3 separate regions of the Homo sapiens genome follow, and all the other regions are linked to region 2. Evidence: promoter capture Hi-C in 16 types of primary human blood cells and fetal thymus (Javierre and others, 2016). All regions are on one chromosome and are shown on one strand. The core of a region is centred on a gene start or on the middle of the fragment in contact, and the rest is flanking DNA. Distances in the headings are between cores, read along the strand shown.

Region 1 (3,408 bases), core at 43-2,542, 1.8 Mb after region 2:
CTCTTGGAAGTTCAAAGGTCTTACATATAGCACCCTTACCTCAGTTATGTTTACACAGCCCCCTGCTTTCCAAAAAGTTCGGTAAAAGAACCCATAATGGTCCCACGGCCAAGTCTGCTTTGTGCCTGTACCAAAGAAGGGGCACGAGTTACATAACACATCTGCTCAAAAACACTAGTAAGTCAGTTTTGAAAATGCAGATCTCTTGATGCAGTAAGGTGCAAGAAAAACATGATACTTCCCCTTATGAAAAAATAAAAGGGTCAAAGATGTTTAATTTTTTTATTTTAAAAATAAAATTGATTCATAAAGTGCAAGAAGAAGTCATTTCTTTCCGGTAGTCTATATGCATCTTCAACAAGCTGTTAGAAACAGAAAAGAGAAAAAAATTAGAAATACACAATCTGAAACTTCAAGCCGTACTGTGGTATTAAACCATGAACCATAAGATCTGGTTTACGACAAGAAAACTGAGGTCCTGAAAATTGATCATGCACAGCTCTTCTGAAGAGCTAAGACTGGATGCAAGGTTCCTGACTTCCAGGCCACTGCTCTTTCCACTTTACCAGGCTGCCAACAACCTAAGAATTCAGTTTGGAGTTTACAATCGCCAAGGCGAAGATGTGCTAACAAGGATGTTACTGAAAAGAATTGGGGGTGGCAAGATCACCTCCCTGGTTCTTTTTTTCTTTTGTTCTTTCCAGTATTTTCTATACTGATGTTTAATGTTGTCAGGATGAACGACGACATAGCACGTTGGTAAGACATTCTCATTAAACACCCAGTGAACCAAACCAAGATACCGAAGAGCAAGTTATCAGGGAAGACAAAACTTCCACCTTCTGGTGTCTGTGGGAACAAGTCCTGTCTTCTGCGACCTAGCCAGAGTTGATCCTAAGATATCCGCCCGACCCCAAAGTCTCCCTTTGCAATGTCACTATGTGTACTGCTCACCAACACTCCAGGAAGAGCCGGCCATGGCAGGCGGGGACTGTGTGGCAAGCCTGGTTCTGGGCGCCGGCGGACCGGGGCTCCGGCGCGGACATGGCAAGGTGGCCATGAGGGGGACAGAATGGGGCGGAAGGCGCAGAGTCTCAGGCCAGGTCCAGCTTCTTCTGCGTCGCCGCCAGCTTGTCCTGCAGCCTCCTTTTCCTCCAGTCCAAGTAGCGCCTCCGCAGTCGGTTCGCCTGCCAGCCCAGGAGTACTCCAGAAGCGAAGGCTACTAGCACGGACAACTGCAGTGTCCTCTCTGACACATCCGCCATGGCTGCCGCCGGCGTGCAGCGCGGTCTACGGCGCGGCGGCGGGGTCAAAAGGCGCCGCGCGTTCAAGGGTGGGGCGTGAGACAAAAATGAAGCGAAGGCGGCGAGGCGTTGGATCTCTCGAAACTCACTAATAGTCCCATCTGTCTCGCCTTCAACTGAAGACTTTCCCAGGCTTTGGACGACCCCACCTTCCACTTTCCTGAACCCCCACATTTCTTGTTGATGCCTTACATCATTAGCTAACATTGGGGGCGTATCTTGCTCACCCGACTGTAAGCTCTTCACCGCTCTGTATTTTCTCTCAGCAATAGAATGGGAGTGACTGGCGTAACTTTAAATTTTCTGGTAACCTGTTTTTTAAAAAATAAAAACAAAAACATGGAATTGTTTTTAATAATATATTTACTTATCCCAACATATAGGGGATGTTATCATTTCAACATGTAACTCGTTTTTAAATTATTAAGGAGATGCTTTATTTTTTTCATACCAAGTCTTTGAAAACTGGTCTGTATTTTACAGCGAAAGGCACATCTCAATTTGAACACTGAATTTTCAATGGAGATACCTATCAGTGTCTAGATTTCATAAAATGTACAGTTGAAAAAGTAGATTTATATACCCAAGCTGTTCTAAAAACACAAACATTTTTCCAATAACCGAATGGAGTACCAATTTAAATTTAAATTCATTAAAATTTTTTAAAAATTATAAACTCAGTTCTTCAGTCACACTAGCCATATATGGGACCAGTGGCTACCATATTGGACAACCCAGGTCTGGGGGTCATGCTGTACCAGAACTAACGTGGGGTCAAAATTGTTGGGATAGGAAACAAACAAACACATTTCTAATGATGAAAGTCATTTTGACACCCCCCCACCATGACTTCCACCTCCTAGTGTTCAGGCCTTTGTGTAATCCACTCCCCTTGAGTGTGGGTGTGACCTGTGACTTGCTTCTAACTAATATAATAAAGCAAAGGGGATGAGGATGTCACTCCTGTGATTACTACGTATATTAATCTGTTCTCACACTGCTCATAAAGACATACATGAGACTGAGTAATTTATAAAGGAAAGAAGTTTAATTGACTCACAGTTCCACATGGCTGGGGAGGCCTCACAATCATGGCAGAAGACAAAGGAGGAGCAAAGGCACATCTTACATGGCAGCAGGCAAGAGAGCCTGTGCAGGGGAACTTCCCTTTATAAAACCATCAGATCTCATGGGTCATATTCACTACCACGAGAACAGCACGGGAAAGACCCACCCTCATGATTCAATTACCTCCCACTGGGTCCCTCCCATGACATGTGGGAATTATGGGAGCTACAATTCAAGATTTGGGTGGGCACACAGCCAAAACATGTCACTGTGTATATAACATTTTTTAGCAAGTTAAAGACTCTCCTGTGGCTTGATGAAGTGGACGTGCTGGAGAAGCTCACAGAACAAAGAACTGCAGTGGCCTCTAGGAAAAGCCTCCAGCCAACAGCCAGCAAAAATCTGGAACCCTCAGTCCCAAAACCACAAGGAAATGAACTCTGCCCACAACCTGAATGAGCTTGGAAGCAGATTCTTCCCCATTTGAGCCTCCAGATGAAAACACAGCCTTACACATTGATTGCAGTCTTGTGAGATTATAACAGAGGACCCAGCTTAATTGTGCTTGGATTCCCGATCCATGGAAAATGTGAGATAATAAATGTGTATTGTTTTAAGTGACTACATTTGTGGTAATCTGTTACATGGTGTAAGATATGGGACAAAACAGAGTGTTTTTCCCACCTTAACTCTCAATACAGACCACCTCTGTTCACTAAACAATACATTCAATACTCTGACACCAGAGTTGGGGTGAGGGAGACCTTTTTCCTATACACCAATGAATTCTGCAGCAGACAACAACTGGGTGTCCTCTAATTCAATTTAATTTTGACACTTACCTACCTGGATGTAGCATCAGCCTCCATAGGTTGAGGGCTCAGTCCCATAAGACTTCTTCCTACTTCCAATGCCAGTCACAAATAGCAGGTTGTCACCTATACCTCTGAAGAACTGGCTATAAATCAGGAATTCCAACAACCCCCTCCTTAGGTTTGATTAATTTTCTAGAACTGCTCAGAGAACTCAGATAAAC
Region 2 (3,690 bases), core at 610-3,109:
ATTCATTCTTTAAAGTATGAAAGATGATAAATATATTTAGAAGATTTCAGCACTTACTATAACTAGTGAAGGAAGAAATAAATGATTTCTTCCTTAAGAGGAACAACAACAGAAGGTATCCGATGGTCAAGAACATTATACCTGCCTCCATCATCTCAGAAAATAAAATTCCTGTCCAATGACAACCAGGAAGGCAGATGGGGGTGAGCTCGAGCTGTGTGAGGAGGCCGCTGATGACCTGGAGCTTAGGGGTGTGCTGACCCTCATCTCCCTGGGGATTCCCAGGAGACGCTGCCCTACCTGTAGCTGCAACTCATGGACCCTGTTACCCAGCCAAGTGCAATGGAGGGCTGGCGAGGGAAGAAAGATCAAAGGAAGAAAAGAAAGGTTCTTTTTTATTTCAAGTATGAGAAAAAGAGAGTTCTACTGTGAGAACATCAACTCTTCTGTAGCTATTGATGTAGCCAAACTCCTGGAATGTAACTATATCTAACAGTGTTTCTCTGAGAAACTTTTACAGGATTGGAATGTGTGTAGTATCTAGTTAACCTGCTATTTTATTGCAAGTGATTTTTTCAAGTTATTAATTGAAATAGGAGTCTACCGTAAGTTGCTCTTAACTTGGGGAACTACTTTGAATGGCATTAATCTGGACCATTAATAACAATGTATACTTGGGGATTGTGTGTGTGTGTGTGTATACATGTGTGTGCATATATGTGTGTACACACACGTGCACACACACGTGCGCGCACACGTGCACACACACACGTGCACACACACACGTGTACACACACACGTGTACACACACACGTGTGTTACTGTACGTGGAGACTGTACATCTTAGGTCACACACCACCCCTGAACCAATCCTACAAACACCATAGGTGATACACACTGTCAAAGACAAAGAGTAGATGTCCACAATAGCTGTTCTTTCTCGTTTATAACACTTCTTTTACCTAGTAATAATCAGCTACCATTTACTCGATACATACTGTGTGCTGCCTCTTCAACCTTTTGACCATTTAAACTACAGGAAACTAGGTTATCTTCAGGTTACCTTAGTTATGGGAGTGTATGGAAAACATTAATGGGAAGGTGAAAGCGCAGCAAACCACTTCAGCAGTTAACAGAAAGGCTCTCAGAGCACTGGACCGCCAATCAGGACACAGCAGCAGCTCTGGGATTCGACCACAGATTCTCTGGCGTGCCCTTCGGGAAAGGGTGGCCTCGGGCCCCCTACTCTACAGAGTCTCCTCCCACGGCTGCCCAGTTCCCTGGCCGACTATCTTGCCTCCACCACATCACCATCAGTACCGGGCGGCTGCAGGGCAGAGCTGTCCAGGGACCTCCTCACAGCCTCCAGAGTCAAGAAATGCCTCCTCAGGGAAGCCCTCTACCGCATCCCTGACCTGTGAGTCACGGAGCTCCCGGGCACCATGCTGGCCACAAATGCCTAAGGAGCCCCCCGGAACCAGCTGTGGGTCCCGCAGGCACTCGCAGGCTAGCGGACACCTTTGGAGGACTGAGAGACCTGTCCTGCAATCCAATGTTCCTCACTCTCACAAGATTTTACAGACGTGGAAACCGAGGCCCGAGGCCCCAAGGGGTAATCGGCCCGCCTTCCCATGCCAATAACCGGCAGTGGCGGGACCCACACCTACTCCGTGACCTGCAGGCCCAGGGGTCGAGCCCCAGGTAGAACGTCTAGACGGACTCCGCCCTTAGCGCCGTACGGGGAACCTTCTCCCGGACGCAGACACGGAAGCGGAAGTGCTGCCGAGCTGTAGCTATGGAGACGTGGGGGGCGGGCCGCCCGGAGAGCGCGACCTTTGACCTGCAGTAGAGCCTACGTCAGAGGCTGGCGCAAACAGAAGTGCAGCGGTGGCGGCGGCTGGTTGCGGGCCGGCGGCGGGCTGGCGGAGATGGAGGTAACTCAGGTCGGGCCCACTGCCTCCCATCAAGCCTTCCGCGCCGCGATTTGGGATGTGGGAGTGGGCCCGATGGGAGGGCGCGGTAGTCTCCCTCTTGGTGTCCCGAAGCCCGCGCTGCTGTCGCCTCCCCATCTTTCGTAAACTCTATCCCTGGGGGTTACCTGCCCCGTAGAGCCCGTTTGTGTACGAATTGCCACAGCGACCGCCTCCGTCCGCCCTCATTCTCTGTCTCACGAGGCTTTCCACCACTTGATTCCATAGAAGGTTTTTCCCTGTAAGGGTTCTACGCGTTCCGTGTGGAATTAGGAAAAGAGTTCTTCTGACACCTGGGTTTGATTTTGTTTTGCAGGATCTTGTTCAAGATGGGGTGGCTTCACCAGCTACCCCTGGGACCGGGAAATCTAAGGTGAAGAGAATACTTGAATAGCGGGCTTCCTGAAGAGTGGAAGGGTGATGAATTGGAAAACTTTGGCATGGGGAAGGGGGGGGCGCTGATTTTTTTTTTTTTAATAGCCTTGCTCCAAGGGATCTCAATTTTAGTGTGCGCAATCGCCCATTTCCTGTTTCTCCCCCGCCCACCCCGATATAGAAAGACTTTTTGTTTGCTTCCTGCTCCTGGTTAGCACTGCTGGGAGATCCTGCTATTTTTCGAACATAAAGCAGTCTAAGAAGGTTTATATAGTGGTGTAGTGGAAGGAGCAGTGACATAGGGTAGGAATCAAGGGATTCTGATCTGTGGGCTCCAGTTTCTACATTGCCAAAGAGTTTAATTAGTCCAGTTTTATGGCCCTGTACAATGTTTAACATTCAATCATTCTAAATGATAGTGGTTTATTGCTAAGGTTTATTGTGTGCATGCTAAATTTCTGGCGCTTGCCTAACCACTCAGTTCCTTCGTTTAAGCTTCATGATAACCATGAGATAGGTACTGTTGTTACCCTCCTTTTACAGATGAGAAACCTGAGACCACAGGCTTAAGCAATTTTCTCAAGTGGTAAAGCTCAATTTTTTAATTAAAGCCTGAATGTTACCCGGTTCATCTTGCTGCTGTAATTATGCGTAAATTTTCTTGTGACCAAAGACTTGCAGCCTTGAATAGAATGAAATAATTTTACAGCTCCAAGGAATTTTAAGTAGCATTAGCTCCAACCTACTGATTTTACAATTAAATCAAAAGCTAGCAATGTCAACCTGTAACATTAGCTATAAGAGGATATGGCCTGGTTTTTACGTTTCATAGTAGTTGCATAACTAATTTTTAGTAGTTGCATAGCAATTACAGAATTGACGTTGCATTTGCTGATTTTAAAAAATGTGGCCGGGCGCGGTGGGTCACGCCTGTAATCCCAACACTTTGGGAGGCCGAGGCGGGCAGATCACCTGCGGTCAGGAGTTTGAGACCAGCCTGGCCAACATGGTGAAACCCCGTCTCTACTAAAAATACAAAAATTAGCCGGACGTGGTAGCGGGCGCCTATGATCCCAGCTATTTGGGAGGCTGAGACAGGAGAATTGCTTGAACTTGGGAGGCAGAGGTTACAAGTGAGCCAAGATCGTGTCATGCACTCCGGCCTGGGCAATAGAGCGAGACTCTGTCTCAAAAAAAAAATGTGGAACAAAGTATGCGGTTGGCATAAAGATTTATTCTGTAGAATGTTTTTGTTTTCTAGCAGACATTGTTTCTTTTTTGTGGTATACTAGAAACATGAGTTATAACAAGTTGGTAACATGACCACATCTTTCAGCTGGAAACA
Region 3 (3,556 bases), core at 231-2,730, 1.2 Mb after region 2:
CTCTAATCTCTCAGCCTGCAATCTGAACTGTTTCTACAATTTAAACTTCTCATGTAGGAGGTTGCTTAGTAGAGTGGTTCTCAAACTTTTTGGTCTCCAGCCTCCAAAGAGCTTTTGTTTACACAGATGAAAACCACCAATGTTTACTATCAAAAATTAAAAGGGAGAATTTGTTTTTAAGAATACACAGGCATCGGGCCTCCAAACGGCGGTGAGATCACTCCATACCATGTAGCCTTTGGAAAACTCGATGTACACGACCTTGGTACTATTAACGAAAATAGTTGTAACCACACTTGGAAAACCGCTGGCTTACTAACAAGCGAGATAAATCTACAAAAGTAACTGGAAAGGTTCAAAACAGTGAACAAACGCGTTCTTTTAGAGTACAAAAGAGTCAAGGCGGGAAAAAAACGGTTTAAAATCCCAATGGAGGAAAACTTGGACGACCACACCATCGGATAAAACGGGAGAGCTTTTGAAAAGCCAGGGGAGCCGGGCTTTCTCCCGGCGGCAGGGAGGCTCGGAAGTGCTCACGGCTGCAAAAGATGACCGCTATTCAATCAGTCCGCACTGCGCCTTCAACTCCGTTATAGCCGTAAGAGACCCACAAACACCGCTGTGGATGTAACTTTTGGCAAAGACCGGGAAGTCGTTCAAGAACTCTCCCACCGTCCCGACGCTGGCGCCGCGCCCCGCGAACCGGGGTCCGGCCGCGCCCAGGCTCCGCAGAGGCTCCTCTCCCGCCCCAGGCGCCCGGCCGCCGCGGAAGCCGGGGAGCACTGGGCGGGCGGGGCCGGAGGGGGCGCGGGTCACAATCCCGGGCCGGACCAGGGGGCCGGTGGGTCGAGGGCGGGAAGTCCCGCGGGGGCCGGGGAGCGCGGGGCTGGGGCCCCGGCGTCGGCGGGACTCACCAGGTGCCGCGCCACCTCGGAGGAGGCCATGGTCGCGGGCAGGGGCACGGTGAAGCGGCTGTATCAGCCCGGCCCCGAGCGGCTGGTCCCGGCGACGGCGGCGGGAAGGCCGGAGGGCAGAAGCAACGGGCGGGGCGCGAGGCTAGGCTGCCTCCGCGACGGGGAAGGGACAGGGGCGGGGCCGAGCTGGAGGCCTCCGGGGGCGGGGTTGGGGCGGACGCCCTGTGGTGCGCGCTGAGCGTTTTGCCTGCGCCAAGCGAGCCCCTCACAGGAGCTACCCTCGACGCCTGAGGACTGAGCGTCAGCGTTGGGGCGGGCTGAAGGAGAGCTGGGACTCCAGGAAGACGGCGCGAGGAATGCAGGCGGGAACTGCGGAGCAGTGATTGCGGCCCTCGCGAGGCCGGAAGTGGGCGGGCCTTGAGGCGAGGCCGCCCTAGGTAGGTGTGGCCGAGACAGCGGGGAGCGGAAGTGGGCGTGGCCTGGTGGCGTGGGCGCGGGGCGGGGGTGCGGGGGGCGTGTCCGCCCGGGCGCGGCCCAGTGAGGCGGTGGCCGAGTCCTCTGGCCTCAGACGCGTAGGCTGGCAGCCCGCTGAGCCCGCCAGACTCCGCCGCCGTCGGGAGCCGGCCGCTGGGAGCCCGTCGCTATGGGACCGCGCTGAGCCGCCCGCTGGCGGGGGAGCAGCGCGGTCGAGGATGGAGGGGCCGGCAGAGTGGGGCCCCGAGGCGGCGCTGGGCCCCGAGGCGGTGCTGCGCTTCCTGGCGGAGCGCGGGGGCCGGGCCCTGCACGCCGAGCTGGTGCAGCACTTCAGGGGCGCCCTAGGCGGCGAACCGGAGCAGCGCGCCCGCGCCCGCGCGCACTTCAAGGAGCTGGTGAACGCCGTGGCCACTGTGCGCGTCGATCCCGCCGACGGCGCCAAGTACGTGCACCTCAAGAAGAGGTTCTGTGAAGGGCCGTCCGAGCCCTCCGGGGACCCGCCGCGAATCCAGGTGACCGCCGAGCCCGAGGCCCCCGACGGCCCTGCCGGGCCCGAGGCGCGCGATCGGCTCCCCGACGCGGCGGCCCCGGAGTCGCTCCCTGGACAGGGCCGCGAGCTGGGCGAGGGAGAGCCCCCCGCCCCCGCGCACTGGCCGCCCCTGAGCGCCGGGGCTCGCAGGAAGAACTCGCGGCGCGACGTGCAGCCCCTACCGCGGACTCCAGCCCCGGGGCCCAGCGAGGACCTGGAGCTCCCGCCACATGGCTGCGAGGAGGCGGACAGGGGCAGCTCCCTTGTGGGGGCTACCGCACAGAGGCCGGCCCGCCAGAACCTCCGTGACCTGGTGATGGGCAGCTCCCCGCAGCTGAAGAGGAGCGTGTGTCCCGGGGGCAGCAGCCCGGGCAGCTCCTCCGGGGGAGGACGCGGCAGAGGCGGGGGCGACTCAGACAGCGCATCGGTGGCCTCGTCGTCCGCGGAGGAGGAGAGCAGCGGCGGAGGCTCCGTGACGCTGGACCCCCTGGAGCACGCGTGGATGCTCTCTGCCTCCGATGGCAAGTGGGACAGCCTGGAGGGCTTGCTCACCTGCGAGCCCGGCCTGCTGGTCAAGCGGGACTTCATTACCGGCTTCACTTGCCTGCACTGGGCCGCCAAGCACGGCAGGCAGGAGCTTCTGGCCATGCTAGTCAACTTCGCCAACAAACACCAGCTGCCGGTGAACATCGACGCCAGGACGAGCGGGGGTTACACCGCCCTGCACTTGGCAGCCATGCACGGCCACGTGGAGGTGGTGAAGCTGCTGGTGGGGGCCTACGACGCCGATGTGGACATCAGGGACTACAGTGGGAAAAAGGCCTCCCAGTACCTGAGTCGGAGCATCGCCGAGGAGATCAAGAACCTGGTGGGAGCCCTGGACGAGGGTGACGGGGAAAGCGCCGCGGGTAGCGGCGGCGGGCGCTGGAGGCTTTCAAAGGTGCTTCCCTCGCATCTCATCACCTACAAACTCTCACACGCCCTAGAAGATGGAGGGGACCATCACCACCATCACCACTCGGCTGAGGGGTGGGTCGGAGGCAAAGCCAAGGATCCAGGGCGCAAAGCCTCGGGCAGCTCTAGTGGACGTATAAAACCCAGACTCAACAAAATCCGATTCAGAACCCAGATCGTCCACACCACACCCTCTTTCAGGGACCCAGAGCAGCCGCTGGAGGGCAGGGGGGAGGAGGGAGTGGGGGAGGAACGACCTGTTAAAGGCCACTCGCCCTTCACATTGAGACCAAAGTCCAATGTATTTGGGTAAAAATTGCTTCTTTTAGAAAATGCAAAGGTTTATTTGTCTTAATAAATTGAATACTAGGTGTTGTAAGGAAGTGAGACCAGAAGGACAAGCTAAATTATGCATTCTTACTTGAGGGATCGGAATGGATGGGGCGGAGTTCTCTTCAGGCTAGCCTTCTGGGAAAAGTGGATGTCTTTTTCAGAGATTCATCATACCTTGACCTGTACCTCTTCTCTGCCCTCCACTTCCCTGCCCTGGAGTCCGTTTCTGGAGACTAGAAATGTATCTAAATTGGGGGAACAGAATGAATGAATTAATGAATGAGAGTTCCTTTGCTTTAACCATTCCTGGATGCCTGCAAAGTAAGGAATAATGCAGTTTTTATGTATCTGA

What was found. The method cuts DNA at HindIII sites, captures the fragments that hold promoters and counts their contacts. A CHiCAGO score of 5 or more calls a contact.
Region 1: a contact is called between a fragment that was not itself captured here and the fragment with the promoter of GCC2 in region 2, in 1 of 17 cell types (fetal thymus). The highest score is 6.2, in fetal thymus.
Region 3: a contact is called between the fragment with the promoter of SOWAHC here and the fragment with the promoter of GCC2 in region 2, in 5 of 17 cell types (monocytes, non-activated CD4 T cells, fetal thymus and 2 more). The highest score is 7.2, in monocytes.

What each region holds. Positions count from the first base shown.
Region 1 is chr2:110,211,261-110,214,668 of GRCh38, forward strand. MTLN (mitoregulin) reads right to left here and starts at 1,287. Exons shown (of 2, transcript NM_001384134.1): 1 at 955-1,287; 2 at 269-362. The coding sequence starts at 1,265. The coding sequence ends at 1,095. RefSeq lists enhancers at 1,190-1,439, 1,540-1,589. The HindIII fragment of the contact is 4,642 bases long and covers 1-3,408 here.
Region 2 is chr2:108,447,347-108,451,036 of GRCh38, forward strand. GCC2 (GRIP and coiled-coil domain containing 2) reads left to right here and starts at 1,860. Exons shown (of 23, transcript NM_181453.4): 1 at 1,860-1,934; 2 at 2,287-2,343; 3 at 3,682-3,690. The coding sequence starts at 1,929. RefSeq lists enhancers at 800-1,782, 1,687-1,946, 1,783-2,764, 2,850-3,350, 3,351-3,690. The HindIII fragment of the contact is 5,578 bases long and covers 1-2,838 here.
Region 3 is chr2:109,612,884-109,616,439 of GRCh38, forward strand. It overlaps SOWAHC (sosondowah ankyrin repeat domain family member C), which reads left to right and starts at 1,481. Exons shown (of 1, transcript NM_023016.4): 1 at 1,481-3,556. The coding sequence starts at 1,607. The coding sequence ends at 3,184. It overlaps SEPTIN10 (septin 10), which reads right to left and starts at 1,083. Exons shown (of 11, transcript NM_144710.5): 1 at 915-1,083. The coding sequence starts at 944. It also overlaps a transcript of RANBP2 not described here. RefSeq lists an enhancer at 1-882 and silencers at 735-824, 855-1,104, 1,365-1,534. The HindIII fragment of the contact is 4,568 bases long and covers 1-3,556 here.